Linked DNA regions of Homo sapiens: region 2 is linked to region 1. Evidence: promoter capture Hi-C in human tissues and cell types (Jung and others, 2019). All regions are on one chromosome and are shown on one strand. The core of a region is centred on a gene start or on the middle of the fragment in contact, and the rest is flanking DNA. Distances in the headings are between cores, read along the strand shown. Region 1 holds the start of MYO15B (myosin XVB). Region 2 holds the start of ITGB4 (integrin subunit beta 4).

Evidence for each region. Contacts are between HindIII fragments. The study calls those that stand out against the background at their distance.
Region 2: the fragment with the promoter of ITGB4 here is called in contact with the fragment with the promoter of MYO15B in region 1 in 4 of the 25 tissues and cell types used here (liver, lymphoblastoid cells, mesenchymal stem cells and 1 more).

Annotation. Positions count from the first base shown.
Region 1 is chr17:75,586,550-75,589,049 of GRCh38, forward strand. It overlaps MYO15B (myosin XVB), which reads left to right and starts at 1,251. Exons shown (of 64, transcript NM_001395058.1): 1 at 1,251-2,500. The coding sequence starts at 1,509. RefSeq lists enhancers at 1,067-1,900, 1,403-1,472, 1,901-2,500 and a silencer at 2,353-2,482. The HindIII fragment of the contact is 22,601 bases long and covers 1-2,500 here.
Region 2 is chr17:75,719,964-75,723,251 of GRCh38, forward strand. It overlaps ITGB4 (integrin subunit beta 4), which reads left to right and starts at 1,496. Exons shown (of 40, transcript NM_000213.5): 1 at 1,496-1,649. RefSeq lists silencers at 1,059-1,118, 1,129-1,518 and enhancers at 1,239-1,777, 1,778-2,316, 3,231-3,288. The HindIII fragment of the contact is 11,256 bases long and covers 1-3,288 here.

The DNA.
Region 1 (2,500 bases), core at 1-2,500:
GCATGTGCCACCACACCTAGGTAATTTTTGTATTTTTAGTAGAGATGGGGTTTCACCATGTTGGCCAGGCAGATCTCGAACTCCTGACATCAGGTGATCCACCCACTTCGGCCTCCCAAAATGCTGGGATTACAGGCATGAGCCACCTCACTTGGCCAGGATCCACTTTGGATGTAGAAACCCATCAATAAGGAATTGGTTCAACCATGGTGCATTTATTTGCAAGGAAGAGAGGGAGGAGAGAAGGGAGGAAGGCAGGCTGGCTTTTTATGGTATTATTATGAAATCACCAGATTACATTGTTAAGTGAAAAAGGCAAAGTGGAGACCCCGGAGCTACATAAGCTACCACTTGTGCTAAAGGGGAAAAATATAATATTTGCTTTTCTCTGCATGGAAAGTTTTTGTTGTTGTTTCTTTGTTTTTGAGACAAACAAAATGCTGTCACCCAGGCTGGAGTGCAGTGGTGTGATCTCAGCTCACTGCAAGCTCTGCCTCCTGGGTTCATGCCATTCTCTCCTGCCTCCTGGGTTCATGCCATTCTCTTGCCTCAGCCTCCCGAGTAGCTGGGACTACAGGCGCCCCCCACCACGACCGGCTAATTTATCGTATTTTTTAGTAGAGACGGGGGTTTCACCATGTTAGCCAGGATGGTCTCCATCTCCTGACCTCGTGATCCGCCCTCCTTGGCCTCCCAGAGTGCTGGGATTACAGGCGTGAGCCACCGCGCCCGGCCAACCTGGAAAATTTTGCAAGGAAATACAGAAATGGGTAACCTCAGGGGAACACTGAGTACATAGGCTGAGGGTCAGGAATGGGAGACTTTTATCTTGTAATGTTTGGATGTTTGAATTATGTGAATGTATTACCTGTTTTAAAAATAGATATTTTAAAAACACACACATTGGGGCAATCAGGAATGTATGGGGTGTGGTTCTGTTCCACAACTCCAAGGAGGTAGACAGGCATGTTTTACACCAGTTCAAGATGTACATTTATGTTTTATGTACTTTTCGGTAAATTGTATTTATTCCACAATTGAAAAGAACAAAAACCCTAGCGACTCATGGAGTGCTGCCGTGTGCCAGGGTGGGCCTGGCCCCAGTCCCTTGGAACCCTCAGAAGGAAGAAGTCCAGACAGGTTCTCTGGGCCCTTCCTTGCTGGGCAAGCACTGAGGTGGGAGTGGAGCATGGACCCCCTCAGTCTGGCGCGGTGCGAGGCTGGCCTGGCTGGCAGCGCCTCCCGGCGGCACTGTTGCCCTGTCCGCAGCTGTAGCGTCTCCTGTTTCCTGGGCGCCTCTATTCCATTGTTGGCCGAGGGGGTCAGGACCCGCCGCCTTCTGCATTATTGATGGTCCTGTAAGGCGGGCACCTCGGGGAGTAGAGCCTGTAGCCCCTGCGAGAGCAGAGCCGGGTGGTGCACTGCACAGAAGGTCACCGCGGGAGGCCAAATCCCCGGGGAGGGGAAAGGACCTGGGCGTCGGGAAGCCCGTCTCCTTTGGGCCAGCCATGGGCAGGAACCAGCGCAAAGCGCCCCAGCGCCTGGAGAGGCCCGGGAGGCCGGCCTCAGGGGAGCAGGAGTCGGGGTCGGCCAGCGCGGATGGCGCGCCCAGCCGGGAACGCCGTTCCGACCGCGGGCAGGCGGACAGGGCGAAACCGGCGGCCGAGCCTGCCACCGCCGGGGGCCAGGGAACCCCTGGTGGCCGCAGGAAGCCCACTGCAGAGGGGAACGGCGGCTGCAGACGCCCAGGGGCTGGGCTGTCCCCGAAAGCCCAGGAGAGGCAAAGCAACGCGCAGCGTCAGGGACGCGGGCCCAGGGGCGGCCGCGGGGGGCGCCTGGAGGAGGGAAGCCTCTCCGGAGGAGAAGAGCTGGGCGGCCGCCGTAGGAGGAAGCGGAAAGATAAGGGGCCCTCGGCTCGGCGGGGCCGCCGGACGCCCAGGAGCCTCAATGGGGACACGTCGGGTGGGGACGGAGGCAGCTCCTGTCCGGACAGCGAAACCCGCGAGGCCCAGGAGAGCGGCAGCCAGCGCGGCACAGCCCGGGAGCTGCGGCCCACGCCGGAGCCTACGGACATGGGCTCGGAAGGGACAAAAACCGGGCCGGAGTCAGCGCTGGAGCCAAGCAGCGACGGCCTGGACAGCGACTGGCCCCACGCAGATACCCGGGGCCGGGAAGGGTCGTCGGGGACGGGGCCCCTGGGAGCCAGCGAGCATTCCGGCGGGGACTCCGACTCGAGTCCGCTGGGGACCGGACCTGGACGGGGCTCTCGGGCAGCTATGGCCTCCAGGACCTTCGAGGACAGCTCGCGGGCTCCTCGGGACACTGGGCCGGCCAAGGACGCGAGCGACAACCGGGCGCAGCGGGGCGCCGAGCCAGAAACAATGCAGGCCTCGACGGCCCGGGCTCCGCGCCACCAGGTCGGAAAGGCGGTGGGGCAGGTGCCAGCGGCGGCAGGCGAGGGCGAAGCGGGAGCCGCAGCAGGAGCGGGGCCGGAGGACCC
Region 2 (3,288 bases), core at 246-2,745, 130 kb after region 1:
GTGCTAGGTGCTAGAGAGTAGCTGCCCTTGGAGTCACAGTCCAACAGTGTGGCGAGATTCCTAAACATCATTTCAAACCAATGTGGCAAATGCCATGTAAAAGCCATGGCCCAAGGGTTATGGGGACACATAAACCAACTTGGGGTGTGGAGAGGTCAAGGAAGGCTCTCTAGCACGTGGTTGGTGCAACGTCTTCAAGGACAAGAAGGATAAACTGGGCTCAATGTCATGGGAAGGGACCAGCCTGTTGAAAAAGCACGGTGGCTTGAAACCGCATGGTTTGGACAGTGCTGTGCCAGCAGTCTGGTGTTGTTTGGCATTGCTGGCCAGTAAGCCTAGAGAAAAATGGAGCCCTGGCTGGGCATGGTGGTTCACGCCTATAATCCCAGCACTTTGGAAGGCCAAGACGGGTGGATCACCTGAGGTCAGGAGTTCGAGACCAGCCTGGCCAACATGATGTACTAAAAATACAAAAATTAGCCGGGCGTGGTGGCGGGCACCTGTAATCCCAGCTACTCGGGAAACAGGCAGGAGAAGCGCTTGAACCCGGGAGGCAGAGGTTGCAGTGAGCCAAGATTGCACCACTGCACTCCAGCCTCGGCGACAGAGTGAGACTCCATCTAAAAAAAAAAAGAGAGAGAAAACAAAAAGAAAAAGAAAAATGAAGCCCTTCTCTGACCTGAACACCCGTGGTAAGCAGTGGCAATGGAGAGACTGCTCTCAGAGGACTGACGGGAGGGAGGGGCCAGCTCTGTAACCAGCTTGTTAAGAACAACTGTAACAAGGCATCGAGTGCCAATCCATGCCAGGTCGGCACTGACCTCTCCAGGGTATCACTGTTCACACTGTAAGGAGATTTAAGTAGCTTGTTGAAGGGTGCACCGAGGACCCGACCCTTCCTCGGCTCTCCCTCTGGATACAACGTGAGGTTAGGGGTTGGAGGCTGAGAGGACCCCGTGAACTGCAGAGCAGAGCTGGGACGGGGAGTCAGGCCTCCCGACCGGGCCGGGGGCACTCCCTGGGCCCATGCCTCGCGCTGGCACGGAGAGCGGGGAGGGGGGTACGCGGCTGACGACCGTCGGGGCAGCAGCAGCAGCACAGCCCGGCGTTGGCTAGCGGCCCAGAGTCGGGGCAGGGAGGGTTCCCGTGCGGACGGGGGCTAAGAGGCCGCCTCCAGCCCGGGGCAGTCCGCGCACCCGAGCCTGGAGCCCGGAGCCTGGAGGGGTGGGGAGGCCCCGCGCCCAGGGCCGGACCGGAGGGAGAGGGAGAGCGGTGGCTCCTCCCCCGGCCCCCGCCGCTAGCCGATCGGGGCGCTGGGCGGGCGCCGCGGGAGCCGCAGCCCTTTCCGGGGGGCGGACCCGGCTCCGGCGGCGGCACCCAGCTCCTGCCCCGACAGGTGCGCGCCGCGCGAAGGAATGCAGCCGGTCTGACTCACCAGCGCCTCCTTCCTACCTGCGCGCCCGCCCCATAAAGCGCTGCCCGCCTCGTCCCCACCCCCCCAACCCCCGCGCCCGCCCTCGGACAGTCCCTGCTCGCCCGCGCGCTGCAGCCCCATCTCCTAGCGGCAGCCCAGGCGCGGAGGGAGCGAGTCCGCCCCGAGGTAGGTCCAGGACGGGCGCACAGCAGCAGCCGAGGCTGGCCGGGAGAGGGTGAGTGCCCGCCCCAGCTGGGCAGCCGCGCAGGGGAGCTGGTCGGGCAGGGCCGGTGGCTTTTGTCTCCCCTTCCCCTCCCTGAAGGCTGACAGGCCCCGGTCCCTCTGTCCACGCTGCGCAGGACAGGTGCCCAGCCTCCCCGGGGTGCGCCGGGGGCAGCTGGCAGCCAAGGGGCAGGGCAGCTAGAGAAGGGTGGTGCCCATCAGACCTCCAGGCCAGAGGAGCGCCTTGGGTGCGCCTGCGGGAGAAGTGGGCAGAGGCCAGTGGCTGGTAGCCCTCTGGGGCTGGGCCCCTCCAGGGTTTGCAAAGAAGGTGGAGTAGACACCAGCCTGAGTGCTGGGCCCAGCCCATCATGGCGCATCTAATGATAAACCAACATTCCTGACTTTTATGTGAAATTTCGTTCTTTCTAACATTGGCTCCTACTTTTAAAAGCCACCCTGAGAGGCAGACGCCATCCCGGCTCCAGGCAGGGCTTGCTCTATGCGGTGCCACAGTCCATCTGGGGCTGGGGAGTCCCTGATTTTCCTTTTCTCTTGGCCAAGCACAGGCCTGCCTTCCTCCCAAAGTCAGCCCCAGGCGCCTTCCTTCAGGAAGCTCTACAGGCCTCACCCACCAGCCCCAGGGCTGTGCCCAACACTGCCACCTCCTGCAGCATCCGCCCTCTTTCCCATGGCTCAGCCTCTGGGGTGGCCCTCTGGCTGGGACTGGGGCTCTGGGGCTCCTGGTGACTCCCAGGAGCAGGGACAGGGCTTCTCCTCTGCCCCCATGGCCTTGCCACACCCTGAGGACAAGGACCAGGCACAGGTGGCATGGTTGTTGCTGTCCGAAACAGAGCTGGCAGTGAAGGCTTGGAGTCTCCATCCTGGGGGCTGAGGGAAGGACAGCAGGAGGGACAGGAGGGGAGGTATGTCTGTCTACTCGACCCTGATTTCTCAGGGAGACAGAACAGCCAAGGGCCTGGGGTCCCCAGACTTCTGGCCAGCTGCCTCTCTGGGGCGAGGAAGGGCCTGGGTCCCTGAGGGGAGGAGATGTGACAGCGGGAGAGGATAGTGGACAGGAGCAGGTGTGCCCAGAGGGGTCCCCAGGGGTTGGGATGGGGGCCAGGGGAGCTCTGAGCCTGTGGGTGGGTGGGCATGGCCTGTGTGTGTGTGTGTGTGTGTGTGTGTGTGTGTGTCCCTGTGGGGGGGAAACTGCCTGTGCTGCAGTGTGATGGCATTCAGGGTGGCAGTCACACACTCCAGGGACCTGCTGGTACATAAAGTCGGGGCAGCCTGGTGGGGTCCGGGCCGCCTGGAGAGTAGGTGTCCTGAGCGCTGGGCCCAGCCCATCGTGATACATCTAATGATAAACACAAATTCCTAACTTTTATGGGAAATCTCGTTGTTTCTAACATTGGCTCCTACTTTTAAAACTTTCTAAACAAATGAAGCCAAACACTCTTGGGTGCCTCGCCAACCCTCTAACTGCCATTTTGTAGCTTCTGCGTGGAGGCTGCCATGGAGGTTAAAGGCAGGGCCTGCAGAGCAGGGCCCTGTCCTGGCCCTCCCAGTGCTGTCCGCGGGATGGGGAAGTTCCACAGCCTTCTGTGCCTGGTCTCTCATCTGGGAAACGGGCAGAATGAAATCATCTCCCG